5 separate regions of the Homo sapiens genome follow, and all the other regions are linked to region 1. The links are contacts of gene promoters, found by promoter capture Hi-C in blood cells and fetal thymus (Javierre and others, 2016). All regions are on one chromosome and are shown on one strand. Each heading gives the region's core, a stretch centred on a gene start or on the middle of the fragment in contact. The rest is flanking DNA. Distances are from core to core; before and after follow the strand shown. Region 1 holds the start of COX6A2 (cytochrome c oxidase subunit 6A2). Region 2 has its middle 19 kb from the start of PYDC1. Region 3 has its middle 4.7 kb from the start of FUS. Region 4 has its middle 6.4 kb from the start of ITGAM. Region 5 overlaps ITGAM (integrin subunit alpha M).

Evidence for each region. The method cuts DNA at HindIII sites, captures the fragments that hold promoters and counts their contacts. A CHiCAGO score of 5 or more calls a contact.
Region 2: a fragment that was not itself captured here is called in contact with the fragment with the promoter of COX6A2 in region 1 in 2 of 17 cell types (monocytes and M1 macrophages); the score reaches 5.6 in monocytes.
Region 3: a fragment that was not itself captured here is called in contact with the fragment with the promoter of COX6A2 in region 1 in 9 of 17 cell types (M1 macrophages, M0 macrophages, total CD8 T cells and 6 more); the score reaches 14.1 in M1 macrophages.
Region 4: a fragment that was not itself captured here is called in contact with the fragment with the promoter of COX6A2 in region 1 in 5 of 17 cell types (M0 macrophages, M1 macrophages, endothelial precursors and 2 more); the score reaches 7.2 in M0 macrophages.
Region 5: a contact is called between a fragment that was not itself captured here and the fragment with the promoter of COX6A2 in region 1, in 8 of 17 cell types (M0 macrophages, megakaryocytes, M2 macrophages and 5 more). The highest score is 8.3, in M0 macrophages.

What each region holds. Positions count from the first base shown.
Region 1 is chr16:31,427,091-31,432,747 of GRCh38, forward strand. It overlaps COX6A2 (cytochrome c oxidase subunit 6A2), which reads right to left and starts at 1,270. Exons shown (of 3, transcript NM_005205.4): 1 at 1,163-1,270; 2 at 925-1,061; 3 at 641-767. The coding sequence starts at 1,235. The coding sequence ends at 684. The HindIII fragment of the contact is 1,386 bases long and covers 645-2,030 here.
Region 2 is chr16:31,233,010-31,238,517 of GRCh38, forward strand. No RefSeq gene overlaps it. Among named protein-coding and RNA genes, the nearest start is that of PYDC1, 19 kb to the left of the region's middle. The HindIII fragment of the contact is 1,302 bases long and covers 2,316-3,617 here.
Region 3 is chr16:31,172,378-31,178,432 of GRCh38, forward strand. It overlaps the pseudogene NDUFA3P6. Among named protein-coding and RNA genes, the nearest start is that of FUS, 4.7 kb to the right of the region's middle. The HindIII fragment of the contact is 8,665 bases long and covers 1-6,055 here.
Region 4 is chr16:31,250,721-31,256,467 of GRCh38, forward strand. No RefSeq gene overlaps it. Among named protein-coding and RNA genes, the nearest start is that of ITGAM, 6.4 kb to the right of the region's middle. The HindIII fragment of the contact is 7,238 bases long and covers 318-5,747 here.
Region 5 is chr16:31,292,846-31,299,074 of GRCh38, forward strand. ITGAM (integrin subunit alpha M) reads left to right here. Exons shown (of 30, transcript NM_000632.4): 13 at 4,669-4,809; 14 at 4,900-5,109. Among named protein-coding and RNA genes, the nearest start is that of ITGAM, 36 kb to the left of the region's middle. The HindIII fragment of the contact is 613 bases long and covers 1,970-2,582 here.

The DNA.
Region 1 (5,657 bases), core at 20-2,519:
CGGCCTGGGCGACAGAGCGAGACTCCGTCTCAAAAAAAAAAAAAAAAAAAGAAAGAAAGATTATAGAGAATTATCAAAAGATTCCAAATCCAGCATTAGGTCCCAAGGCCTCACACACAGGACTGTGGAGCCTCCGTCTGAAATCCAGAGAGCTGGGATTCACAGACACCAGCAGCTCAGGTGTCAGGCAAGAAGTGGGACTTCAGGATCTGCAGCCCTGGGCTCCCATGGGGGCTCTGCCGAGCTGCCGGAACTTGGACAAGTCATTTAATTCCCAAGAATCTCAGGTCTTCCTCGGGAGAAGGTGAACTAAATTTATACCCTGCTCCCAGCGTTACTGTGAGGATTCGGTGTACGCGGAAGCCCATTACAGCCTAGAGCCCTAATTATTAATAGGTGTGTGTGAGAGGGAGGCCTCATTATTACCAGGTGAGAGACAGGGAGCTGGGATCGCCTACCTGTGAGTGGAGGAGGCTCCCTCGAGCACCTCCGTATCAGCGGCGTGGGAAAAGCACGTGGAGCGCCCACCGCGCTAGGCGCATGCGCGGAGCAGGAGCGCTTACCAAGCTGGGCGCATGCGCGGAGCGGGCGCCTCTGGGCGCGCTCCCCGTGGCCCCGCCCTCCCCACAGAGCCGCAGACTCGAAGCTTCACACCTTTATTGTGTCCGGGGGCGTCCGGGGCCTCAGGGGTGTTCGTAGCCCGTGGGCAGAGGGTTCACGTGGCTATTGTGGAACAGAGTGTGGTTGCCGTCCCCCCAGGGGTAGGGCTGTGGAGAGAGCGGGGGAGGGAGCGCGCGTGAGCGCCGTGAGTCCGGAGTCCGCGCCCCGCGCGACCCCCCCCCCGCAGCACCCCCCCCCGCCCCCGCAGCACCCCCCCCCGCCCCCGCAGCACCCCCGTGCCGCCCGCGCGCCCGTCCCGCGTACCTTGGTGCGGATGCGGAGGTGTTGGTAGGGACGGAACTCGGGGCGCGGGCGGTGGCCCGAGTGGAGATAGGAGTTGAAGGTGCAGAGGGCCACGCTGGGCAGCGCCAGCACGAAGGTCAGCAGACGCCAGGTACGAGCTGCGGACGGAGCGGGGTGAGCGCGGCGGTCCTGGGGCGGCGGGCCTGTGAACAGGTGGGCAGGGTAGGGGAGCCCCCGGATCCGCCCGTTCCCCACTCACCTCCTGCTCCTCCGTGGCCTCCTTTGGCAGCGCTGGCCAAGCCCCGGGTCAGGGGCCTCAGAGGCAAAGCCATGATGGTGCGGGGAGCCGGGAACCAGCGCTGTCCTCGCTCCCTTTCCTGGGGCCTGGGGTCACCTCCCCTCTCTGGGCCAATCACCTGTTGAGTCTGGAGCACTGGCGGCTATTCTTAGGGGTTTCTATATTTAAAATGGGGCCTGACTGGCTTGAGGTCATCTCCAGACAGCTGTTGTCCTGTGCCTCTTATTTTGGCAAGGAGGCATTTAAGTACAATATGCCATTCTTTTTATATAGTTGCAGGGAAACTATTTTGTTCCCTATTCTATGCCTGGTGGCTGGCACACAGTTGGGCTTTAATAAATATTTGTAGAATGAATTAAGTGTCTTTTTGAGTCTCAGTGTTTTCAGCTGTAAAATGTATAATAATTCGTACCTTAAAAGATTTTTTAAATACTGGAGACGGGGATCTCACTATATTGTCCAGGCTGGTGTGGAACTCTTGAGCTCACGTGATCCTCCCGCCTCAGCCTCCCACAGTGCTGGGATTACAGGCATGAGCCACTACACGGCCCTTACATCATTTTTATGAAGTTTATGTAAGGTAGGAATGTGTCAACCTGGATTTTGGCAGGTAACAGTAGTTCAGTATATGTATTAGTCACAGTTCTTTGCAAAGAACAGAACTCACTCTTACTAGTTTTAGAAGATAAGTAATTGAGAATCTTAGGTAGCTTACTATGTCTGATATAGCCAGAGATGCCTACAGTCTGCACAGTCATAAACAAGTCATTCCGTTGGCCAGCTGCAGTGACACCCCCACAGCTCACACTGCTGGACCCTGGATGCCAAAAGCTTCATTAAGGCTGCCCTGGAAAACCAGAATTTTCCACCCTCATCCCCTCTTGAAAACAGATTCTTCATGAAACCTGTATCCTGGGTCGCTCTTTTCTGAAAGAATTATGTGATTGCACCAACTGGCAACCCCTAGGTCCCCCAGCTGCAGGAGGGGATGGGAAACTGAGCTCTGGATTCTGCCTTAGGGAGGCAGGAATTGTAGGGAAAATCTCCAGGTCTAGGATGAGTATTCAAAAGGTTCCAGGCAGCCACAAGCCTGACAGGTGTCTACTGCAAAGTGCATTATTTCAATCTGAAAAATATGACTACTTGGAGAAAGCAAGCCTAGACAGGGCTGGTGTGAACCCTCTATCAAAGCAGGTCACAAGAAAGCCACAAGACCAGGCAGGGATGACATCTGCCTGTTCTGTCCTCAGCAACGGGCAGGGACCTTGGCATGAAGGAGGTGTTCTAAAAATATGTATGTAATGAATGCTTGAACCTTGTTACTTTGGTTAACCCTACAACAATGCCTTTTCAGAATTACAATCCAATAGGAAGCTTCTAGCTTTGATCAAGGGCTGATGTACTAATATGAACTTAATATACAAAAGAAGAATGAATTATATAGACATATAATCTGAATTTAATATATAAAAAAAACGAGGAAGATATATTTTCAAGAAGGGGCTCTATACCTGTTTCTCATTGGTAATAAACTGAACAGTATGTTCCATCCAACTTTAAGCTGCTGCTATTTTTAAAAAAAATAACCTCCTTGAGCAGTCAAATGTTATACAGTGTTACAAAAATTATTCCTGAGCTCTCACTGAGCTATAATAGAATTCTTCCTACAGTTTTTTTCCCAGCTGGACTTTGGCATTGTTGCAGAGAAGATGGGGCCCTATTCCAGTTAAAGATACCTGGCATCTCCCTCTACACATAGCCCCCTCCCTACGTATATAAGATAATGGCTCCTGGAGAAAACAGACATGAAGACAGGTATTTTTACTTGACAAAGTTCTAGAGGCCTGGCATAGTGGCCCACGCTTGTAATCCCAGCACTTTTGGGAGAATGAGGAGGGCGGATCACTTGAGGTCAAGAGTTTGAGTCCTGCCTGGCCAACATGGTGAAACCCCATCTCTACTAAAAATGCAAAAATTAGCTGGGTGTGGTGGCCCGTGCCTGTAATCCCAGCTACTCGGGAGGCTGAGGCAGGAGAATCGCTTGATCCCAGGAGGTGGAGGTTGTAGTGAGCCAAGATTGTGCCACTGCACTTCAGCCTGGGTGACAGAGTAAGACTCTCTCAAGAAAAAAAAAAAGAAGGAAAAAAGGAAGAAAAGGTTCTAGGTTTCTTTTCTCCCCTAAAAGGCCCCTCAGAGTTTTTCTGGTTGCTGCCAAACAATTCCCTGGGAATTCCCATCCCTTTGTTCTCAGCTTGGGAGCTCCTGTGGAGAGGTTTTCTTGCTGGGATGTCAAGAACGCCCTGAGGAGGGCCACTTCTGTCCTGGGCTGCTGTCACCATCACGAGGTGCACTTGCCCAGGTACCCAGAGACCTCCGCTCAGGTGGTCTGTGCTTTTCTGGGCTTGTCACCATCTTACCTGCCTCTCTAGAGGGTGTGCAGAGCTGTCTCTTCCAGGCTGTGCACTCACCATTGTTTCTGTAAGTTCTCACTCACACAGTTCTTAACCTGGCTGCTGCCAACACTTTCAGTTTCTAGAGGTTTAATTTTTCCTCCACTTTAGGCAGAGGGAAGAACAAACTCACCAGGTGCTAAATAAACCCCGGAGGGCAGCATCTCAGCCTCTGTTCAGAGTATCTCAGCTGTTGGTGGTGAAGGAGGTGGAGGCATGACTCAGGGTCAGTTTCTCTTGTGCCCTCTTCCTGGGATGCTGCATACCATGACCACATTTTCTAAAGCAAAGATCGATTACATGTGATCTACTAAGTATAAATGTTTATGGGGGCCCTAGGGACAGCGTATTTGAAATTAGAATAGTCCTGGAAAAACAACTGTGATACAGGACATGGGTTAGCTAGAACGAACAGGTACAGAGAGATGGAGCTCAGACAGCATTGGGGTGGGGTCCAGTGGCAACAGGGACATAGACTCTAAATAAATGGGGCTCTGAGCTCCCTCTGCACTTGGGAGGGGCCAGTGGCTATGTGATAGTGGATGTCTACTGTTTTGTGTCATATGACCAATATATCTATGCCTTCTTTTCTGATACTGACACACACACCCCTGCCCCCCTTATTCTCAGTTCAAGTTCAAGTGGGGTTGACTCCCTCCTCTAGCTCCAAGAAGGGCCACATGATCCAGGCCTACCCAATCAGAGCATTCTATTCTCCAGGTCATAGTGATTTTTTTTTTTTGAGACAGAGTCTCACTCTGTCCCCCAAGCTGGAGTGCAGTGGTGCAGTCTTGGCACACTGCAACCCCTGTCTCCCATGTTCAAGTGATTATTCAGCCTCAGCCTCCTGAGTAGCTGGGATTACAGGTGCACACCACCATGCTTGGCTACTTTTTTGTATTTTTAGTAGAGATGGGGTTTCACCATGTTGGCCAGGCTGGTCTCGAACTTCTGGCCTTAAGTGATCTGCCTGCCTCGGCCTCCCAAAGTGCTGGGATTACAGGCGTGAGCCACCCCACCTGGCCGTAGTGATTGTTTTTTGTATTTTGTTTTGAGACAGAGTCTGGCTCTGTCACCCAGGCTGGAGTGCAGTGGTGTGTTCATAGCTCACTGCAGCCTCGAACTCCTGGGCTCAAGCATTCCTCCTATGTCAGCCTACCAAGTAGCTGGGATTATAGGCACAAACCACTGTGCTCAGCTAATTTTTTAATTTTTTGTAGAGATGGGTCTCACTGTGTTGCCCAGGCTGGGATGATTGTTGTAGGGAGGGGCACAAGTCCATGAGTTCCAATTTTCAGGCCTGTCTCTTGGACTGTTGAAACACAATTATACTTCAACTGGACTTGGAGCTGCTGGAGCCTCAGGCTGGGGCCTTCAATTGAAGCCAATATTGAAGCCATTTTCAGAGCAGACCTGAAAAATGGGAGATCTAGCCTTGTTAATATTATGTGAATCCCTGAGTCAAGATGTGCCGGAATTGAGAAAGAGCTGAACTCTTAAGACTTTTCAGTTATGTGAAATAACAAATCCCCTATTCGTAAAAGCCAGTTAGAAATGGGGCTTTAAGTCCTAATTTATTGTTAAACATTTTTTATGAAGCTATACCACATCTCTAAACTTTTACCAGCACATTTCTGATTTCTGTTCCCCTGTACTGTGATCCATATTTTATTGAAGTTTTGGGGCTTCTTTTGTAGAAATGATAGAAATGTATTTAATAAACATTCTGGAGTATGCATGCCTTTAATGAATTAAACCTCATAGGCACTTGATATGAAGGGATTTAATGTTTGTGAAAATGAAGTGAGACAAATAAATTACACATTGAGATACAGCCCAAGTTGCTAAATGTTTAAAGGTTGAGGCTTGTAATTTTATTTTCTTCCATTTCATAATAGTGTAGTGACACATCACAATACATCTCTACACTGTGACTTGATTTCTCCCGAATCTGTGTCTGATGCTGGGAACACTGATGTTCTGGCTGAATCCATGACACTTGCACA
Region 2 (5,508 bases), core at 1,717-4,216, 190 kb before region 1:
GGATGGTTGCCGTGTCTGTGTAGAAAGAGGTAGACATGGGAGACTTTTCATTTTGTTCTGTACTAAGAAAAATTCTTCTGCCTTGGGAAAAAAAAAAAAAAAAAAAAAGAGATGTCCACAAAATTTTGCATTGGTGCTGGCCATTTGTATAGGCCTTCAGACTCTCAAAAATGTGAGTTCTTAAAATTATTATTATTTATTTTTGAGACAGGGTTTCACTCCATCACCCAGGCTAGAGTACAGTGGTGTGATTTCTGCAGCCTCGACCTCCCAGTTTCAGGTGATCCTCCCACCTCATCCTCCCAAGTAGCTGGAATTACAGGCACACGCCACCATGACTGGCTAATTTTTTTAAGTTTAGTAGAGATGGGATTTCACCGTGTTGCCCAGTCTGGTCTCAAATGCCTGGGCGCAAGTCATTCACCTGCCTCAGCCTCCCAAAGTGTTGGGATTACAGGTGTGAGCCACTCCGCCTGGCCTAAAAATACTTTATTGCTAAAAATGCTAAGGATCATCTGAGCCTTCAGTGAGTCATAGTCTTTTTGCTGGTGGAGGGTCTTGCCTCAATGTCGATGGCTACTGACTGATAAGGATGGTGACTGCTGAAGGTGGGGGTGGCGGTGGCAATTTCTTAAAAGAATTTCTTAGGCCAGGTGCTGTGGTTCACGCCTGTAATCCCAGCACTCTGGGAGGCCGAGGTATGTGGATCACCTGAGGTCAGGAGTTCAAGACCAGCCTGGCCAACATGGCAAAACCCCATGTCTACTAAAAATACAAAAGCTAGCTGGGCGTTGTGGTGGGCATCTGTAATCCCAGCTACTCGGGAGGCTGAGGCAGGAGAATCACTTGAATCCAGGAGGCGGAGGTTGCAGTGAGCTGAGATCATGCCATTACACTCCAGCCTGGGTGACAAAGTGAGACTCTATCTCAAAAAAAAAAGAATTTCTTAAAAGAAGACAATAATGAGGCTGGGCACGGTTGAGTCATGCCTGTAATCCCAGCACATTGGGAGGCCAAGGCAGGTGGATCACCTGAGCTCAGGAGTTCAAGACCAGCCTGGCCAACATGGTGAAACCCCGTCTCTACTAAAGATACAAAAATTAGCTGGGCATGGTGGCTGGTGCCTCTAATCCCAGCTACTCAGGAGGCTGAGGGAAAAGAATTGCTTGAACCCAGGAGGCGGTTCGGTGAGCCGAGATTCTACCATTGCATGCCAGCCTGGGCTACAAGAACAAAAGTCCATCTCAAAAAAAAAAAAAAAAAAGACTTGAAAGGCAAAATGACTCTTTGATCCATGCACTGCAGAAGAGATGTTGTGTTAGCAGCTGTATTAGTCCATTCTCACACTGCTGTGAAGACATACTTGAGACTGGGTAATTTACAAAGGAAAGAGATTTAATCAGCTCATGGTTCTGTGGGCTGTACAGGCTTCTGCTTCTGGGAAGGCCTCAGGAAACTTATAATCATGGTGGAAGGTGAAGGGCAAGAAGGCACATCTTCACATGGCTGGCGGGAGGTGAGAGAGGTGCTACATGCTTTAAAACAAGCAGCACTAGGGGGACGATGCTAAACCATTAGAAACTGCCCCCATGATCCGATCACCTCCCACCAGGCCCCTCCTCCAACACTGAAGATCACAACCTGACGTGAGATTTGGGTGGGAACACAGAGCCAAACCATATCAGCAGGCATGAAAACAACATTTATCTCTTGGTACATCTCCATCAGAGCTCTTGGGTAACCAGGTGCATTGTCAATTAGCAGTAATATTTTGAAAGGAGTCTTTTTGAGAAGATGTGGTGGCTTGTGTCTGTAATCTCAGCACTTCAGGAGGCTGAGGAGGGAGGATCACGTGAGCCCAGGAGTTTGAGACCAGCCTGGGTAATATAGCAAGACCCTGTCTCTACAAAAAATAAAAAAAATTAGTCAGGCATGGTGGCACAAACCTGTAGTTCCAGTTACTTGGGAGGCTGAAGCAGGAGGATTGCTTGAGCCTAGGAGGTTGAGGCTTCAATGAGCTATGATCATGCCACTGCACTCTGCCTGGGCAATGGAGAAAGAAAGAAAGAAAAAAAGAAAGAAATTTCCTTTTGAGCAGTAGTTCTCAACAGTGGGCTTAAAATATTCAGTCAACTGTGCTATAAACAGATATGTTGTCATCCAGGCTTTGTTGTTTCATTTATAGAGACAGGCATAGTACATTTAACATAATTATTAAGGGGTCTAGGATTTTTGGAATGGTAAATGAGCATTAGCTACAACTTAAAGTCACCAGCAGCATTAGTCCCTAACAAGAGAGTCAGCCTGTCCTTTAAAGCTTTGAAGCCAGGCATTGACTTCTCCTCTCTAGCTATGAAAGTCCTTGATGGCATCTTCTTCCAATAGAAGGCTGTTTTGTCTACATTGGAAATCTGTTGTAAGGTGTAGCCACCTTCATCAATGATCTTAGCTAGATTTTCTGAATAACTTGCAAGTTATCCAGAAAAGGTTTTTAATTGACTTTGCCTAGATCCATCAGAGGAATCACTATCTATGGCAGCTATAGCCTTATGAAATGCATTTCTTTCTTTTTTTCTTTCTTTCTTTTTTTTTTTTGAGACAGAGTCTTGCTCTGTCACCCAGACTGGAGTGCAGTGGCGTGATCCCAGCTCACTGCAACCTCGGCCTCCCAGGTTCAAGCAATTCTGCTTCAGCCTCCCAAGTAGCTGGGATTACAGGCGCCCACCACCACTCTTGGCTAATTTTTTGTATTTTTAATAGAGATGGGGTTTCACCATGTTGGCCAGGCTGGTCTCGAACGCCTTATCTCAGGTGATCCACCTGCCTTGGCCTCCCAAAGTGCTGGGATTACAGGCTTGAGCCACCACGCCCGGCCATGAAATGTATTTCTGAAGTAATAAGACTTGAAAGTCGAAATTACTGCTTGGTCCATGGACTGCAGAATGCGTGTTGTGTTTGCAGGCATGGAAACAACACTAATCTCCTTGGACATCTCCATCAGAGCTCTTGGGTGACCAGATGGATTGTTAATGAGCAGCAAACTTTGGAAATAAATCTATTTTTCTGAGCAGCAGGTCTCCAGAGTGGGCTTAAAACACTCAGTCTTTGGCCGGGCACGGTGGCTCACGCCTGTAATCCCAGCATTTTTGGAGGCCAAGGCGGGTGGATCACCTGAGGGCAGGAGATTGAAACCAGACTGGCCAACATGGTGAAACCCCGTCTCTACCAAAAATAAAAAAACTAGCCAGGCATGGTGGCGCATGCCTCTAATCCCAGCTACTAGGGGGCTGAGGCAGGAGGATCACTTGTATCTGGGAGGCGGAGGTTGCAGTGAGCCAAGATCGCGCCACTGTACTCCAGCATGGAATAGAGCGAGACTCCGTCTCAAAAAAACAAAAAAAAACCAAAATAAAACAAGAAAAACCACTTAGTCAACCATGCTGTAAACAGATGTGCTGTCACCCCAGCTTTGTTCCATTTCTAGAGTACAAGAAGGGTGGATTTAGCATCATTCTTCAGGGCCCTGGGATTTTCCAAATGGTAAATGACCACTGGCTACACCTTGAAGCCCTACCAGCTGCATTAGCCTCTAATAAGAGAGTCAGCCTGTCCTTTGAAGCTTTGAAGCCAGGCATTGACTTCTCTGAAAGTCCTAGATGCCATCTTCTTCCATCAAAGACCATCTCATCTACATTGAAAACCTGTTGTTGAGTGTAGCCACCTTCATCAGAGATCTTCTGGAGAACTTGCTGCGCCTTCTCCATCTGTACTTGCTGCTTCACCTTGTACTTTTATGTTGTGGAGATTGCTTCTTTCCTTAAACCTCATGAACCCTGCTGACTTCCACCTCTGCTGACTTCCAAATTTTCTTCCGCAGCTTCCTCACCTCTCTCAGCCTTCATAGGACTGAAGAGCATTTGGACCTTGCTCTGGATTTGGCTTCGGCTTAAGGGGATGTTGTGCTGGTTTGATCTTCTATCCAGATCACTCAAACTTCCTTCGTATCAGCAATTAGGCTGTTTCACTTTCTTATTATTCACGTTCACTGGAGTAGCACTTTTTTTTTTGAGACAAGATTTCTTTCTGTTGTCCAGGCTGGAGTGTAGTGGTGCAATCACGGCTCATTGCAGCCTGGACCTCCTGGGCTCAAATGATCCTCCCACCTCAGCCTCCTGAGTACTGGGACTGCAGGTGTGAACTACCATGCTGGCTAATTTTTAAATTTTTAAAATATTTTTTAGAGACAGGGTCTCGCTATGTTGTTTAGGCTGGTCTCAAACTCCTGGGCTCAAGTGATACTCCCACCTTGGCCTCCCAAAGTATTGAAATTATTAGCTGAGCCACTGTGCCAGGCCTTGGAGTAGCACTTTAAACTTCCTTCAATAACTTTTCCTTTGCATTCACTATTTGGCTAACTGGTGCAAAAGGCCTAGCCTTCAGCCTATCTCTCAGCCTTTTTTTTTTGAGACAGAGTCTTGGTCTGTCACCCAGGCTGGAGTGCAGTGGTATGATCTTGGCTCACTGCAACCTCCGCCTCCCGGGTTCGAGTGATACTCCTGCTTCAGCCTCCTGAGTAGCTGGGATTACAGGCGCCCACCACCACACCCTGCTAATTTTTGTATTTTTAGTAAAGAGAGGGTTTCACCATGTTGGCCAGGCTGGTCTTAAACTTCTGATCTCAGGTGATCCACCCGATTCGGCCTGCCAAAGTGCTACGATTACAGTCGTGAGCCACTGCGCCCAGCCTCTGTCTCAGCTTTTGAAACGCCTTCCTCGCTAAGCTTAATAATTTGATTTAACATGACGCTTCCTTTGATTTAACATGACCCTTCCTTTCACTTGAACACTTAGAGGACACTAGGGTTACTCATTGTACTAATTTCAATATTGTTGTGTCTAAGAGAATAAAGAGGCACAAGGACTGGGAGAGAGAGGGGAACCACTGACTGGTGGAGCAGTCAGAATGCACACATTTATCCATTATGTTCACCATCTTTTATGGTTGAGGTTTGTGGTACCCCAAAACAATTACAATAGTAACTTCAAAGATCACTGATCACAGATCACCATCACAGATAGAAGAATGATGAAAAGCTTGAAATATTGTGAGAATTACCAAAATCTGACAAAGAGAGGTGCAGTGAGCACGTGCTGTTGAAAAAATGGCACCAATAGATTTGCTTGACGCAGGGTTGCCACAGACCTTCAGTTTGCAGAAAATGCGGTATCCATGAAAAGCAATAAAGTGAACTACAATAAAACAACGCATGTCTGTACTTAATTATATCTTACAGATAAGGGGAAGGTTTCCTTTGACCACACCCCCAGTGCTGATTATTTCTTTTTCCTCCTCATCAGAAGTAATATTGTCAAGTTTAGTGAGTAGTTTTGTTTTATGTTTTGAGACAGAGTCTTGCTCTGTCACCCAGGCTGGAGTGCAGTGGTGTGATGTCAGCTCACTGCAACCTCTGCCTTCCAGGTTCAAGTGATTCTCCTGCCTCAGCCTCC
Region 3 (6,055 bases), core at 2,155-4,654, 250 kb before region 1:
CTCACTGTGTCCCCTCAGCTCCTATCTCTGTATGGCCTGGTTTCTCCTAGGTTATGATTATACAGCGAGGATTATTATAATATTGGAATAATGAGTAATTGCTACAAACTAATGATTAATGATATTCATATATAATCATATCTAAGATCTATATCTGGTATAACTATTCTTGTCTTATATTTTTTTATACTGGAACAGCTCATGTCCTCGGTCTCTTGCCTTGGCGCCTGGGTGGCTTGCCGGCCACAGGCAATGTGATGAGACCCAGTCTCTACAAAAAACAAAAATGCTGGGGCGTGGTGGTGTATGCTGCTGGGGAGGCTGAGACGGGATGATCTTTTGAACCCAAGAGATTGAGGCTGCAGTGAGCAGAGATTGTACCACTGTACTCCAGCCTGGGCGACAGGGCGAGACCCTATCTCAAAAAAAAAAAAAAATAGCTGGGTGCGGTGGGTTACGCCTGAGTCCCAGCACTTTGGGAGGCTGAGGCGGGTGGATCACAAGGTCAGGAGATCGAGACCATCCTGGCTAACACAGTGAAACCCCGTCTCTACTTAAAATACAAAAAAAAAATTAGCCGGGCATGGTGGTGGGCGCCTGTAGTCCCAGCTACTTGGGAGGCTGAGGCAGGAGAATGGCGTGAACCTGGGAGGCGGAGCTTGCAGTGAGCCGAGATTGCACTACTGCAGTCCAGCCTGGGCGACAGAGCGAGGCTCCATCTCAAAAAAAAAAAAAGTCAACTCCTCAGTGAAGGCTGACCCACCCTACTCACTGCAAAAGTAATCACTCTTCCCCTGTGGCAGGTCTTACCCTGTATAATACCCTCCTCAGCTACCATGCTGTGGTGCATTGTAGGAGTCAGTTTGCTTTTAAATTGGTCATTATATGCACATAGTGAAAAATTAAAATATAAAAGGATCTAGGAAAAGTGAATTTCCTTCAATCCTTGACCCCAAGTTCCCCAGATTCCTTCCTCAGAAATAGGCTATGACTTGTTTTTCTTCTTCCAGAGATATTTTATGCATAAGTAAACACATATATATATATATCCCTAACTGTTCTCCTTCTCTTTTTCTTTTTTCTTTTTTTTTTTTGTGACAGGGTCTCACTCTGCTGTTCAGGCTGGAGTACAGTGGCACAGTCATAGCTCACTGCAGCCTTGACCTCTTGGATAGTACCCCACCCCCCTGCCCCAGACTCAGCCTCCCAAGTAGCTGGGACCACAGTCACACACCACCAAACCCAGATCATTTTTAATTTTTTTGTAGAGACAGGGTCTCACTATGTTATTAAATGATCCTCCTGCCTCGGCCTCCCAAAGTGCTGGCATTACAGGAATGAACCACTGAGCCTGGCCCTCTTTCTTTTTTAGAAACCCAAATAGAGGCCGGGCACAGTGGCTCACGCCTGTAATCCCAGCAATTTGGGAGGCTGAGGCGGGTGGATCACGAGGTCAGGACATTGGGACCATCCTGACAAACATGGTGAAACCCTATCTCTACTAAAAATAAAAATACAAAAAAATTAGCTAAGCGTGGTGGCGGGCGCCTGTAGTCCCAGCTACTCTGGAGGCTGAGGCAGGAGAATCGCTTGAACCCGGGAGGCGTAGCTTGCAGTGAGCCGAGATCGTGCCACTGCACTCCAGCCTGGGTGATAGAGCGAGACTACGTCTCAAAAAAAAAAAAAAAACAAAAACCCAAATAGAGGCTGGGCATGGTGGTGCAGGCCTGTAGTCCCAGATGCTGGTAAGGCCAAATTTGGAGGATTGCTTGAACCCAGGAATTTGAGGCTGCAGTGAGCTTTGATTGCACCACTGCACTCCAGCCTGGGTGACAGATTGAGATCCTAACTCAAAAGAAAAAAAAAAGGAGGCCAGGCATGGTGGCTCACGCCTGTAATCCCAGCGCTTGGGAGGCCAAGGCAGGCAGATCATGAGGTCAGGAGTTCGAGATCAGCCTGGCCAACATGGTGAAACCCCATCTCTACTAAACGTACAAAAATTAGTTGGGCGTAGGGGCACGTGCCTATAATCCCAGCTACTCGGGAGCCTGAGGCAGGAGAATTGCTTGAACCTGGGAGGCGGAGGTTGCAGTGAGCCGAGATCGCGCCACTGCACTCCAGCCTGGGTGACAGAGCAAGACTCAATCTCAAAAAAAAAAAAAAAGGCCGCTGTCATCACCACCGAGACCAAGAAGGCCACGAGACTCAGCACCTTCCTCAAGATTTCCTGGGCCAAGGAGCCAGTGCTGGTCTTGTCCTCTGTCATCCGGAGCCTCACTGTAATTCTACCCCCACTTAGTCCCCACACCAAGTACTCCATCATGATCAACGAGGCAAGGCCCTACAACTACCCAGTGCCTGTCTGCAATGATGGGAACATGCCCGATGTGCCCAGCCACCCCCAGGACCCCCAAGGCCCCAGTTTGGAGTGGCTGAAGAAATTGTGAGCACCTCCACTGCCAAAGGAGGACCCTCCCATGGCTCCCACTAGAAATGTGAAAACCAACCTCTCCCTGCTCAAAAAAAAAAGAAAAGAAAAAGAAAAATTGCATTAAATATTTGATCTAGGCCAGGCGCAGTGGCTCATGCCTGTAACTGTAACTCTAGCACTTTGGGAGGCCGAGGCAGGAAGATTGCTTGAGGCCAGGGGTTCAAGACAAAACTGGCCAACAAAATGAGACCTTGTCTTTAAAAAATAAATTCTGGGGCTGGGCGCAGTGGCTCATGCTTGTAACAGCACTTTGGGAGGCCGAGGAGGGGTGGATCACGAGGTCAGGTGTTTGAGACCAGCCTGGCCAACATAGTGAAACCCCGTCTCTACTAAAAAAAAATACAAAAAATTAGCCAGGCGTGGTGGCGGGTGCCTGTAATCCCAGCTACTTGGAGGCTGAGGCAGGAGAATCGCTTGAACCTGGGAGGCAGATATTGCAGTGAGCCGAGATCGCGCCATTGCACTCCAGCCCAGGCAACAGTGCGAGACTCCATCTCAAACAAATATATATAAATATAAATAAATATATATATATATGTAACTTCCTGGCACGATGGCACAGACCTGTAATCCCAGCACTTTGGGAGGCCGAGGCGCGTGGATCAGGAGGTCAGGAATTCAAGACCAGCCTGGCCAAGATGGTGAAACCCTGTTTCTACTAAAAATACAAAAAATTAGCCAGGCGTAATGGTGGGAGCTTGTAATCCCAGATACTCGGGAGGCTGAGGCAGAGAACTGCAAACTCCGGAGGCGGAGGTTGCAGTGAGCTGAGATTGTGCCACTGCACTCCAGCCTGGGTGACAGAGGGAGACTCTGTCTCAAAAAAACAAACAAAAAAATTAAATAAATAAATTAAAACTAACTAACTAAATAAATATCTGGATATCTGAGCTGGGTGCAGTGGCTCATGCCTCTAATCCCAGCACTTGGGAAAGCAAGGCAGGCAGATCATTTGAGGTCAGGAGTTCGAGACCAGCCTGGCCAACATAGGGAAACCTCATCTCTACTAAAAAAATTAGTTGGGTGTGGTGGTGCACATCTGTAATCCCAGGTACTCAGGAGGCTGAGGCAGGAGAATTGCTGGAACCTGGGAAGTAGAGGTTGCAGTCAGCTGAGATTGCAGCACTGCTCTCCAGCCTGGGTGACAGAGTGAGACTCTGTCTCAAAAAAAAATCAATATCTGATATACGTGTTTATTTTTTTATTGAGATGGAGTCTTGCTCTGTCGCCCAGGCTGGAGTGCAATGGCACAATCTCTGCTCACCGCAACCTCTGCCTCCCTGGCTCAAGCAATTCTCCTGCCTCAACCTCCCGAGTAGCTGGGACTACAGATGCGCGCCACCATGCCCGGCCAATTTCTGTATCTCTAGTAGAGATGGGGTTTCACCAGGTCGGTCAGGCTGGTCTCGAACTCCTGACCTCATGATCTGCCCACCTCAGCCTCCCAAAGTGCTGGGATTACAGGTGTGAGCGAACGCATCTGGCCCAATATCTGATATACATGTTAATTGAAACTGGGTGTGGTGGTCACACCTTTAATCACAGCACTTTGGGAGGATTCCCTTGAGCCTAGGAGTTCAAGACCAGCCTGGGCAACATAGCAAGACCCTGTCTCAAAAAAGAAAAATTTAACATTGACTTTCCTGTCAGAGATAGGAAGTAAATAAGACATTTATGGTGAACTTAAAGCACATATGGCAGCTAAAGGTGACAGTGTCTCACTCCAGCTGACCCTTGCCCTATGGAAGTGGGCCTGGAATGGCCCACTATTTTTAGTGTTGGCAACTAGTTAAAAAAATTAAAACATTCGAGGCAGGTGGATCACTTGAGATCAGGAGTTCGAGAACAGCCTGGGCAATATGGTGAAACCCCGTCTCTACTAAAAATAGGAAAATTAGCTGGACATGGTGATGCATGCCTGTAATCTCAGCTACTCGGGAGGCTGCAGCACAAGAATTGCTTGAACCCGGGAGGCAGAGGTTGCAGTGAGCTGAGATCACGTCACTGCACTCCAGCCTGGGTGACAGAGTGAGACTCCATCTCAAAAAAAAAAAAAAAAGAAAGAAAGAAATGGCCATTTGATTTAGTCTTTCAGAGTCACATATTTTTTTTTTTTTGAGGCCGAGTCTCATCTGCCACCATGCCCAGCCCAGAGTCACAGCTGGAGCCTGAACTCTGCCTCAGTGTCTTCCCCACTTGTGCCTTTGTCTTCGCGGTTCTGCCTATTATAGCCTTTCCTCCCTTGCTGCTTGGCAAACTTCTACTTATCCAGTAAGCCTTGGCTTCAGGGTTACCATCTCTCTTTAGTGTTCTGTGGTTGTCCACCTGATGGATGACTTACTCTGCTGGCAGGGTTTCCAGTCTTTGATTCCATGTGATGGCACTTACTACACTCAAGTACACTTTGTGGTCTGTGTGTCTCACCCACATTCACCCACTGGCTGGTCCTGTGGTTTAGGAACTGAGCTTTTTTTTATCCATATCCATCCAGTCGGCCCCATGATTGGAACATACTATGCAGTGCTCAGGCAATGTTTGCTGAAGCGCAGGGGTTAAGAGCAGGCTACCTGGCTTGGGAACCCAGCTTTGCCACTTCCTGTGTAGCTTCAGCATAACTTTCCGTCTTTCTTTTTTTTTAGAGACAGAGTCTTGCTCTACTCTATCATCCAGGCTGCAGTGCAGTGGCGCGATCTCGGCTCACTGCAACCTCTGCCTCCGGGGTTCAAGCAATTCTCCTGCCTCAGCCTCCTGAGTAGCTGGGACTACAGGTGCGCGCCACTATGCCTGGCTAATGTTTGTATTTTTAGTAGAGACGGGGTTTCACCATGTTGGTCAGGCTGGTCTCGAACTCCTGACGTTGTGATCTGCCCTCCTTGGCCTCCCAAAGTGCTGGGATTACAGGCGTGAGCCACCGTGCCCGGTCAACTGCCTGTCTTTCTATGCTTATTTCCTCATCTGTAAAATGTCATCCTTAGCAGGGCGTGGTGGCTCACACCTGTAATTCCAGCAATTTGGGAGGCCAAGGCAGATGGATCATCTGAGGCCAGGAGTTCGAGACCAGCCTGGCCAACATGGTGAAACCCCGTCTCTACTAAGAATACAAACATTAGCTGGGTGTGGTGGCGCACACCTGTACTCCCAGCTACTTGGGAGGTTGAAGTTGTAGAATCACTTGAACGCGGGAGGCACATGTTGCAGTGAGCCGAGACGGCGCCCCTGCACTCCAGCCTGGGTGACAGAGTGAGACAGTGTCCCCCCAAAAAAAAAAAAGATAAAATGTCATCCTCACATCAGCCTTTTGTTGTGAAAAATAAAATCAAGAGTTTACTCAGTCAGAACAGGGCCTGACAGTAAGTCTTGTTAAAGTGTTAGCTATTACATATTATAGATGAGCACAATGTATATCATTATTAAATGTCAGCTTTATTATTATTATTTGTTTTGAGACAGTCTTGCTCTGTTGCCCAGGCTGGAGTGCAGTGGCACGTCTTGGCTCACTGCAACTTCCGCCTCCTGGGTTCAAGCGATTCTCCCATCTCAGCTTCCTGAGTAGCTGGGATTACA
Region 4 (5,747 bases), core at 2,687-5,186, 170 kb before region 1:
CCACTCCCTGCCAGGCACCACTTCTTTTTATCCTTCCTGTCAGCCCGAGGGTGGACTTGGCGCTGGGCCGTCTTTGACCAGGCGGATGAAGACAAAACCCTCAGGATGGCAGAGCAACCTGCTGGAGGGAGCCTGGATCTCCAACACCATGGAGCCTCCGTAACCCCCAAATGCTGATGCTGGGGCCATCACAGGACTGTCTGGGCTAAGCCTCTGTGATTTTGGGTCTTATTACAACAGTTGAACCTTAGTCTCCACCAATACAAATAATCATCTTTGCCGGTGGGGGCGCATCTTACATGCCAGGCACTGTGCTAAGCTTTTCACATGCATTATTTAATTTAACCCTTACAAAAACTCTGTTAAGTCACACATCAGTTAGGGCCTTTTGGGGAAAAACAACAGAACAAGTAGAACATGAGATTTACTGAGTACCAAGTAGCCTATTCCAGGAATTAGTAGTTTTGTTTCCTGCCCTGCTCAGGTTAGGCCCTGAGCAACTCCTCCTTTCAAGGTTGGGAGGCAAGAACTTAGAGATGGTGAAATGGCTGTCGCTGCCCTGCAAGTCACCTGTGGCCAACCATGCTCTTTGTGTGACCTTGGTCGAAACACCTGGGACTCACAAAGCCTGTGGTAGAACAATTTCCTTGGCCTGCCAGACATTTGGCCTGCTGCATGGACAACTGAGGTGGCAAGGGAAGCATCCAGAATGCTTCCCACTGAGCGACAGGCAGCTTTCAGCCACCTACCTCTGTGTGTCATCGAGGGTGCGCTGGCCAGGTCATCCATCAACCCAACACAGTTGGTAGAATGATTACAGCGAATGTTGACTACATGCACTTTGACATCTATTATTATCTCATTTAACTATCACAATCACCCCAAGATGTTAGTACAATTATTGCCCCCATTTTCCAGATGAGGACAGTGAGGTCCAGAGAGTAAGTTGTTCAAGGGCATACTTATAGACCTAGGATATTTTTATTCTTTTTTTTTTTTTTTCTGAGATGAGATCTTGCTCTGTTGCCCAGGCTGGAGGGCAGTGGTGTGATCTTGGCTCATTGCAATCTCCGCCTCCTGGGTTCAAGTGATTTTCTTGCCTCAGCCTCCTGAGTAGCTGGGATTACAGGCATGTGCCACCATTCCCGGCTAATTTTTGTATTTTTGGTAGAGACAGGGTTTCGCTATATTGTCCAGGCTGGTTTCAAACTTCTGACTTCAGGTGATCCACCTGCCTCAGCCTCCCAAAGTGCTGGGATTACAGGTGTGAGCCACCACACCCGGCGTAGACCTAGGATTTTAGTGCCCTTAGTCTGATTCCAGACCCAAAGGCTTAACCAGATGGCTGAGGATGACACTCAGGTGGAACTTTTTTTTCTTACTTTTTTTTTTTTTTAAGACAGGGTCTCGCTGTGTTGCCCAAGCTGGAGTGCGGTGGTGCAATCAGCTCACTGCAGCCTCAATCTCCTGGGCTCAAGTGATTCTCCCACCTCAGCCTCCTGGGTAGCTGGGGTTGTCTCACGTGTCCATGTGAAGAGACCACCAAACGGGCTTCGTGTGAGCAACAAGGCTGTTTATTTCACCTGGGTGCAGGCGGGCTGAGTCCGAAAAGAGAGTCAGCAAAGGGTGGTGGATTATCATTAGTTCCTACAGGTTTTGGGATAGGGGGTGAAAAGCCATGTTTTGCGGGCAGGGGTGGATCTCACAAAGTACATTCTCAAGGGTGGGGAGAATTACAAAGAACCTTCTTAAGGGTCGGGGAGATTACAAAGTACCTTCTTAAGGGTGGGGGAGATTACAAAGTACATTGATCAGTTAGGGTGGGACAGAAACAAATCACAATGGTGGAATGTCATCAGTTAAGGCTATTTTCACTTCTTTTGTGGATCTTCAGTTGCTTCAAGCCATCTGGATGTATACATGCAGGTCACAGGGGATATGATGGCTTAGCTTGGGCTCAGAGGCCTGACAGGATCACAGGAACTTTTCTTGACAATCCAGTGCAATGGAAAAACAGTATTTTATTCTTGTTCTTCCCACAACTTTCTCAGGAGGGCGGATCCTGTAGCAAGTTTCTTCGAGTGTGGTGAGCGAAGCAAATTGGAGGAGCTCAGACGGAGATAATTTGTCTGTGTAGACAAGGAAGGAAATTTGGAGAGGTGGGACTGGGAGATTTTGTTGGGAAGAGAGAAGCCGTGACCCTGGGTGCTGTGCAGGAAAAGGGACGATGAAGACCTGATACCTTCATTCCCCTGAGAGCAAAACTGGAAAATGTTGAGGAATGTGGCAAAGAAGGTTTGCGAAGTTGAGTATAGAGAGTCATGTGATGCAAAACCCACTTGTTTGAAGGAGGTGGGCCAGTGAGCCTGCCGATCCCTGGGGGAAGATTGGTTCCATCAGAGGGAACAGCCAGTGCCATGGCCTTCAGGTGGTGGTGTGCCTGGCAGGTTTGAGGAATGGCAAGGAGGCCAGGGTGGCTGCTGTCCCAGAAAATGAGGTAAGCTCAGAGAGGTAAGGGCTGGGGTTGGGATGACAGGTCATGCAGGTCCTTGTAGGTTGTAGAAAGGACTGGCTTTTACTATCAGTAACGTGGGAGCCTTTGCAAGGTTTTGAGCAGAGGAGTGGCATGATATGTCTTGTGTTTTGAAACAATCCCTCTGACTGCTGTACTGAAAATTGACTTCGGCTGGGCACGGTGGCTCACGCATGTAATGCCAGCACTTTGGGAGGCTGAGGTGGGAGGATGGCTTGAGGCTAGGAGTTTGAGACCAGCCTAGGCAACTTAGTGAGACCCCGTCTCTACAAAAAGATTGAAAAATTACCTGGACATGGGGGCGCATGCCTGTAGTACCAGCTATTTAGGAGGCTGAGGTGGGAGGATCATTTGAACCCAGGAGTTGGAAAAAAGAAAAAAGGCAGTCAAAGGACTGAGCTCTGAGATCCTTCTGAAGAGGTTGGGAGAAGAGGAGAATCAGCAAGAGAAACTGAGAAGGAGGGTCATGGGCGGTAGGCGGGAAGCAGGAGAGTGTGGGGTCAGAGGACAGATGTAGAAATCAGTTCCAGGAAGCGAGGGCCGAGTGTCAGAAGCTGCTGCTGAGTCACTCAAGATGAAGACAGAACTCATCACTGGAGTCACTCAGGCAGCCTTGGTGACCTTGATAAAAATAGTTTAGGTGGAGTAGGTGCCGGGTTGGAGCACAGGCTTGGTTGGAATGGGGTTAAGGGAGGATGTGAGCAGTAGAACAGGGTGCAGCCAACACAGACAACTACTTTGGAGAAGTTTTGCAAAAGGGAAGTAAAAAATGGGCAGTGGTTGATGAGGGGAGTGGAATCAAAGAAAGTCTTGTTTGCTTTTTCAGTAGGAGAAATGTATTGTTTCTGATGGGAACACCAGATTTCTACATACGTATTTTGTATTCTTTCCGAGGGTCTTATATACTTATTCCAGAGCCAACACTGTACTTTTACCTACTGTGGCTTTAGAATATTGCTTTGATAGGGTACTTGTTATGGAATAACATGACATTGTAAGGTATGTCCCATTGCTTTATAGGCTATTGCTGTGTGTTTTCTAGTCCAGTCAATTTTTGAATCAGCACGTCAAATTCTAGAAAAATTCTGCTGGGTGAGATTATAATGAATTTGAGTAATTAAATGGAGAACCGACATCTGTACTGACATCTGTAGTCTTGTAGTCTTGTCATCCATGAAGATGACATATCTCTCTATTCTTTTTTTTTTTTTTTTTTTTTTTTTTTTTGAGATGGAGTGTTGCTCTGTTGCCCAGGCTGGAGTGTGGTGGCACAATCTCAGTTCACTGAAACCTCTGCCTCCCGGGTACAAGCAATTCTCATGCCTCAGCCTCCCGAGCAGCTGGGATTACAGGCATGCACCATGATGCCCAGCTAATTTTTGTATTTTTTGTAGAGATGGGATTTCACCATGTTGGCCAGGCTGGTCTCAAACTCCTGGCCTCAAGTGATCCACCCACTTCAGCCTCCCAAAGTGCTAGGATTACAGGCGTGAGCCACTGCACCAGGTCAATAATCTTTTTTTTTTTTTTTTTTTTTTTTTTTTTTGAGGATGAAGTCTTGCTCTGTTGCCCAGGCTGGAGTGCAGTGGCATGATCTCGGCTCACTGCAACCTCCACCTCCCGGGTTCCTAGCATTCTCCTGTCTCAGCCACCCGAGTAGCTGGGACTACAGGCGCATGCCACCATGTCTGGCTAATTTTTGTATTTTTAGCAGAGACGGGTTTTGCCATGTTGGCCAGGCTGGTCTCGAACTCCTGATCTCAGGTGATCCACCCACATCAGCCTCCCAAAGTGCTGGGATTACAAACGTGAGCCATCATGCCCGGCCAGTAATTTGTTTAATTACATATCTTTTATAAGCTCTTTCTTTCTTCCTTCTTTTTTTTTTTGAGACAAGGTCTCACTCTGTTGCCCAGGCTGGAGTGCAGTAGTGTGATCATGGCTCACTGCAGCCTCCAACACTTGGGCTCAAAATGTCCAAGGGACATTTTGCGAAGTGCGTTTTCAGGGAGATAGTTTGATTTCCCACACCTGTTTGATACATATTAATGTTTAATTAATTAATTATTTATTTAATTAAAAAAATTTAAGAGACGGGGTCTTATTATGTTGCCCAGGCTAGAGTACAGTGTATGGTGGCATGATCATAGCTCACTGCAACCTCGACCCCTTGGGTGCAAGTGATCCTCCTGCCTCAGCTTCCTGAGTAGCTGGGACTACATGTGCATACCACCACACTAGATAATTAAAAAAAAATTTTTTTTAAGAGACAGAATCTTCCTATGTTGCCCAGGTTGGTCTTGAACTCCTGGGCTCAAGCGATCCTCCCACTCTGGACTCCCAAAGTGCTGGTATTACAGGCAGTGAGCCATTGTGCCTGGCATTAGCTCCTTCTTTTCCTCACTTTCCCACCAGTGTTTCCGGAATCACCTTCCAGATAAATTACTTACACTTGAAGCCTTGTCTCAGAGTCCACTTATAGGGGAAATCAAGCTAAGATTTTATCAAGAGTGGGGATGGGGGACAGGTAGGAGGGAACAGCCAACAGCTTATAGATATGTCCCCACCCACGGTCACCAGGTCAGGTGCACACTTGGTGGTGGCTCATTGAGAAAGCCTCTGCAGGTTGGACAGCCAGTCTGAGATCTTGCCTATGTTTTTACAGAGAGTGGACCCTTGGCCACTGTTCAGGGCAAGGAGGGGCCTCCACGTCTGAGTTCGAGCAGCCCCCATAGTGGCCAGAGTGTGAAAACTTTTCCCAAAGCAAACCCAGCTGATCTACTAAACTCCTCCCCGGGCACCCTGGTTGGTATCTTCTCATCTTGGGCTCATGACTTCGTTCGTCCTTTCCTCAGCTTCTTTACCTGCTAACAAATACAGGTAACCTGTTGTTTTAAATTATCTATTGGTATTTTTTATGATTATGAGTCTTTTTTTTGTATAAAGGTCTTTTTTTTTTTTCTCTTTGAGACATGGTCTTGCTCTGTTGCCCAGGCTGGAGTGCAGTGTTGAGGTCATAGCTCACTGTAGCCTCAAACTCCTGGGCTCAAGTGATCCTCTTGCCTTGGCCTCCCACAGCATTGGGATCACAGGCATGAGCCACTGCACCCAGCCTATATAAATATTTTAAGTACAAATGATATAGAAAAGAATATTAAAGTCATCTTGTAGCAGATTGAATACAACCACAAATTCCTCCCATTGGGAGGTGGGA
Region 5 (6,229 bases), core at 1,026-3,525, 130 kb before region 1:
TTCCCCAAGTGGTTAAACTAATTTACCACTCCCACCAACAGTATAAGTGTTCCCTTTTCTTCACAACCTCACCAGCATCTATTTTTTAACTTTTACTAATAGCCATTCTAACTGGTGTGAGATGGTATCTCATTGTGGTTTTGATTTACATTTCTCTAATGATAATGATTTTGAGCTTTTTTTGTATGCTTGTTGGCTGCATGCATGTCTTCTTTCGAAAAGTGTCTGTTCATTTCCTTTTCCCACCTTTTAATGGCGTTGTTTTTCTCTTGTAAATTTGTTTAAGTACCCTGTAGATGTTGGATATTACACCTTTGTTGGATGCATAGTTTGTGAATATTTTCTCTCATTCTTTAGGTTGTCTGTTCACTCTGTTGATAGTTTCTTTTGCTCTTGCATTTAATTAGATGCCATTTGTCAATTTTTGCTTTTGTTGAGATTGCTTTTTGTGTCTTTGTCAGGAAATCTTTGCTTATTCCTGTGTCTAGAATGGTATTGCCTAGGTTGTCTTCCAGGGTTCTTATAGTTTTGGGTTTTACATTTAAGTCTTTAGTCTATCTTGAGTTGATTTTTGTATATGGTGTAAGGAAGGGGTCCAGTTTCAATCTTCTGCATATGGCTAGCCAGTTATCCTAGCACCATTTGTTGAATAGGAATTCTTTTCCCCATTGCTTATTTTTGTCTTAGATCAGATGGTCATAGGTGTATGGCCTTATTTCTGGGCTCTCTATTCTGTTCCATTGGTCTATGTGCCTGTTTTTGTACCAGTATCATGCTGTTTTGGTTACTGTAGCCCTGTAGTATAGTTTGAAGTCAGGTAATGTGATGCCTCCTTCTGTGTTCTTTTTGCTTAGGATTGACTTGGTTATTCAGGTTCTTTTTTGATTCCATATGAATTTTAAAATAGTTTTTCCTAGTTCTGTGAAGAATGTCATTGGTAGCTTAATAGTAATAGCACTGAATCTATAAATTGCTTTGGGAAGTGTGTCCATTTTAATGATATTGATTCTTCCTATCCATGAGCATGAGATGTTTTACCATTTTTTTGGTGTCATCTCTGATTTCTTTGAACAGTGTTTTACAATTCTCACTGTACAGATCTTTCAACTCTCTGGTTAGCTGTATTCCTAGTTATTTTATTCTTTTTGTGGCAATCGTGAATAGGATTGCCTTCCTGATTTGGCTCCCAGCTCTTGTTGGTGTATAGGAGTGCTAGTGATTTTTGTACATTGATTTCGTATCCTGAAACTTTGTTGAAGTTATTTATCAGCTGAAGGAGCTCCTAGGCCAAGACTATGGGGTTTTCTAAATATAGAATCATGTTGTCTGCAAACAGGGATAGTTTGACTTTTTTACTTCCTTTCTTCCTATTTGTATGCCCTTTTTTCTTTCTTTTGCCTGATTGCTCTGGCTAGAACTTCCAATAATATGTTGAATAGGACTAGTGAGCAAAGGCATCCTTGTTTTGTGCTGGCTTTCAAGGGGAATGCTTTTGCCCATCAAGTATGATGTTGGCTGTGGGTTTGTTGTAGATGGCTCTTATTATTTTGAGGTATGTTCCTTCAATACCTAGTTTATTGAGAATTTTTAACATAAAGGGGTGTTGACTTTTATTAAAGCCTTCTCTTCATCTATTGAGATAATCATGTGGTTTTTGTCTTTAGTTCTGTTTATGTGATGAATCATATTTATTGATTTGCATATGTTGAACCAACTTTGCACCCCGGGAATGAAGCCTACCTGATCATGGTGGATTAGATTTTTGATGTGCTGCTGGATTTGGTTTGCAGGTAGTGTGTTGAGGATTTTTGCATTAGTGTTCATCAAGAATATTGGCCTGAAATTTTCTTTTTTTGTTAAGCTGACACTTTTTAGTTTGATGCCACCCCATTTGTCTGGTTTGCTTTTGTTGCCTGTGCTTTTGGGGTCATATCCAAAAAATCATTTCTCAGAAGCTTGATTGTCAAGAAGCTTTTCCCTTTGTTTTCTTCTAGTAGTTTTACAGTTTCAGGTCTTGTGTTTAAGTCTTTAATCCATTTTGAGTTGATTTTGTATATGGTTTGGGATAAAGGTCTAATTTAATCCTTTTGAATATGAATATCCAGTTCTCCCCACACCATTTGTTGAAGAGAATGTCCTTTCTCCTTTGCATATTCTTGGCACCTTTATTGAAGATCAATTGACCATAAATGCATAGTTTTATTTCTAGCCTCCCTGTTCTGTTCCATTGGTTGATGTGTCTGTTTTTATGCCACCACCTTGCTGTTATGCTTACTAGAGCTTTCTTGACACAGTATGTTTTGAGATCAGGAATTATGATGCCTCCAGTATTTTTTTTCTTGAGGATTGCTTTGGCTATTTAGGGTCTTCTGTGGTTCTACATAAATTTTAGTTTTTTTTCTATTTTTGTAAAAAAATGCCATTGGGATTTTGATAAGGATTGTACTGAATCAGAAGATTGCATTAATACTCCAGTCCATGAACATAGGATATCTTTCCATTTATTTTTGTCTTGTTTAACTTCCTTAATCAATGTTTTATAGTTTTAGTGTACATGTTTTTCACCTCTCTGGTTAAATTTAAGCTTAGGTATTTTTTTTGATGCTATTGTAAATGAGATTGTTTCTTGATTTCTTTTTCAGATAGTTCATTGTTAGTGTATAGAAGCACTATTGATTTTTCACATTGATTTTGTAACCTGTAACTTTACTGAATTTATTCATTAGTTCTAGTAGTTCTTTTTTGGTGGAGTTTTTAGGGTTTTTTAAAAATATATTTATATATATATGTTTTTATATATATATCATTTTAAGTGTAAACAGAGACAAATTTCCTTTTTTATATCTGATTTGGGTCTCTTTCATTTATTTTTCTTGCCTAATTGCTGTGACCAGGACTTCCAGTACTATGTTACATAGAAGTAGTGAGAGTGAGCATTCTTGCCTTTTTCCTCATTTTAGTGGTAAAGCTTTCAATTTTTCACCATTGAGTATGATGTTTGTTGTGGGCTTGTCGTATATGGCCTTTATCATATTGAGGTACATTCCTTCTGTAGCGAATTTATTGAGAGTTTTTATTATAAAAGAATGTTGAATTTTGTCAAATGCTTTTTTTTGCGTATATTGAGATGATCATGTGGTTTTAGTCCTTCATTCTGTTAATGTGATATGCCACATTAATTGATTTGCATATGTGGAATCATCCTTGCATCTCGCATCCCAGGGATAAATCACACTTGATCATGGTTATTATCTTTTTATCTTTTTTTTTTTTTTTTTTAACAGAGTCTCTCTGTGTTGCCCAGGCTGGAGTGCAGTGGCGTTATCTCGGCTCACTGCAAGCTCCACCTCCCAGGTTCACGCCATTCTCCTGCCTCAGCCTCTTGAGTAGCTGGGACTATAGGCGCCCGCCACCATGCCCTGCTAATTTTTTTTTTTTTGTATTTTTAGTAGAGATGGGGTTTCACCATGATTTCCAGGTTGGTCTCGAACTCCTGACCTCAGGTGATCCACACGCCCTGGCCTCCCAAAATGCTGGGATTACAGGCATGAGCCACTGCATCTGGCCGGTTATATGACTTTATATGTTTGTCAAAACTCATAAAACTATGTACTAAAAGGCTGAATTTTATTGTATGTAAACTCTTCCCCAATAAATCTGACCTAAAAAACAATCAAATTCTGTTGACTTTAGGATAAAGTATTCAGTTATCAATGAGTCTTCCCTCAATGGTGTATGAGGCAGAAATCACGTTGCAGAGCCGTGGCATGATGTCCCCTGCACATTCCCTTTCTAGAACTTGTCCCAGTTTGAAATTGCTATACACATCTCCCTGTTAATCCATTGATTACTCTCCTCTCCTCCACCTGGCTGCACTGAGGGCCCTGGAAGGCACTGTATCTCTATTACCCAGCTGTGTGCTTAGCAATAAGAAACACTTGTTTGTTGAATGAATGAATAAATGAATGAATGAATGTATGATTAAATAGGTGAATTTTATGGATGAATTCTACATATTGACCTTGAAGATATTTCTTAATATCACAACAAATATTCAAATAACAAATAGTTATTTTTAATCTAAGCCAGTTATTAGCCTTATTAGTCAGAGTGCCAACTTTGACTTTTTACCTCCCTAAAGATTCCCAATATATTGAAAGGGTGGTATTCTGTCTTCTCTTCTAGAATTTTCTATGTATTTTCCAACCCAAATTCTTCTTTGCTGCCTTAATAATCTCCCAGGAATACCACCTGGAGTAAATCCTCACTCACTGCCCATTGACTCTACTATAGGCTTATTTTTTATCTTTTAAATTATTAAAAAATATATATATACACTTAGAGATTGGGATCTTGCTCTGTTGCCCAAGCTGGAGTGCAGTGGTGACAAAGCTCACTGCAGCCTTAAACTCCTTGGCTCAAGGGATCCTCCCACTTCAGCCCCCCGAGGAGCTGGGATTACAGGCAGAAACCATTCTGCCAGGCTTATTATATAGGTTCCTTTAGCTGGCAGCACATTCAAGTGATAATTTATCATGAACCATATAGAAGATCACATCTGCTCCAGAGGGATTCCCCCAGCAGGCATAACTTTTCTTCAGAGAGAGAAAACCTCCACATCTGCTTTAGGTGGGAAGAGGTGTGTGATTACGGTCCTGTCTCTTTCAGATCGGCGCCTACTTCGGGGCCTCCCTCTGCTCCGTGGACGTGGACAGCAACGGCAGCACCGACCTGGTCCTCATCGGGGCCCCCCATTACTACGAGCAGACCCGAGGGGGCCAGGTGTCCGTGTGCCCCTTGCCCAGGGGGGTGAGTGGCAATGGGACCTGGGCTGGGTGGGGCCCGGTGTGGGTGGAGGGGTCGCCTGGGTTGGGGCCTGATACTGTTTGTGTTTAGCAGAGGGCTCGGTGGCAGTGTGATGCTGTTCTCTACGGGGAGCAGGGCCAACCCTGGGGCCGCTTTGGGGCAGCCCTAACAGTGCTGGGGGACGTAAATGGGGACAAGCTGACGGACGTGGCCATTGGGGCCCCAGGAGAGGAGGACAACCGGGGTGCTGTTTACCTGTTTCACGGAACCTCAGGATCTGGCATCAGCCCCTCCCATAGCCAGGTGAGACCTGGTCACTGTCCTTGTCATGACAGTAGCCTCTTTGTTGATCTTTCTCCTAATTCAGTGTGCCCACAGCTGCCAGATAAGTTCTCACAGTACTCCTTTCAGAACCTTCAAAAATAATAACATGTGGCTGGGCCTGGTGGCTGACGCCTGTAATCCCAGCACTTTGGAAGGCTGAGTTGGGAGGATTGTTTAAGCCCAGGAGCTCAAGACCAGTCAGGGCAACATGGTGAGAACCCATCTCTCCAAAAAAAAAAAAAAAAAAAAAAAATTAGCCAGGTGTGGTGGCATACACCCATGGTCCCAGCTACTCTGGAGGCTGAGGCCGGAGGATTACTTGAGCCTGGGAGGTTGAGGCTGCAGTGAGTCCTGGTCACACCACTGTACTCCAGCAGCCAGAGTGACAGAGTCAGACTTGCACATGCATGCGTGCACGTGCACACACACACACACATTCACAGAAATCTCAAAGACTCTTAGTTCCAGATTGATTATTTCTACAGCAATAGGAGGTGCATGATAGCCTCATCACCCCCACTTTACAGATGAGTAGATCAAGGCCCAGCGATGGCAAATGGCAAGCTAGCAGTATTGGGATGCAGGCATTCCTTTCTTCTGAATCTCGGTCCTGGTAAGGTGACCAAGAGCTCTAGTTTGCTTAACTCTGTCCCAGATTTAGTACTGAAATCCCACATCCTGGGAAACCTATGCGGTTGGCCACCTTACGGGATTGCACACTTCACAGATGTGGAATTGTGCAGTCACACGTGCCCCTCTCTCAGAATCGCCCTGTGCTTGGCTTAATGCTCTGCTATTGCCATCTTCAATTCTTAGTAATTTTTCAACAAGGGGTCCTACGTTTTTTTGCATTGGGTCTTGCAAAGCATGGAGCCCATCCTGATGACTTGTCACCCTATATTCTGGACCTGACAACTGTTTTGCTCTGTAAGTTGGCTTTCTGTCTCCTGCCAGGTGGAGCCCACTGTCTGGAGGGACCCTTACAGTCTGGTTCCATCTTCCCTGTTCATATTCTTTCCCACCATAGCCACCTGAGACCATCTAGTTTTCTGGCCTCTGGTCTCTGGGTTTTTGCTAGCCTTACATTTTTCTTTCTTTA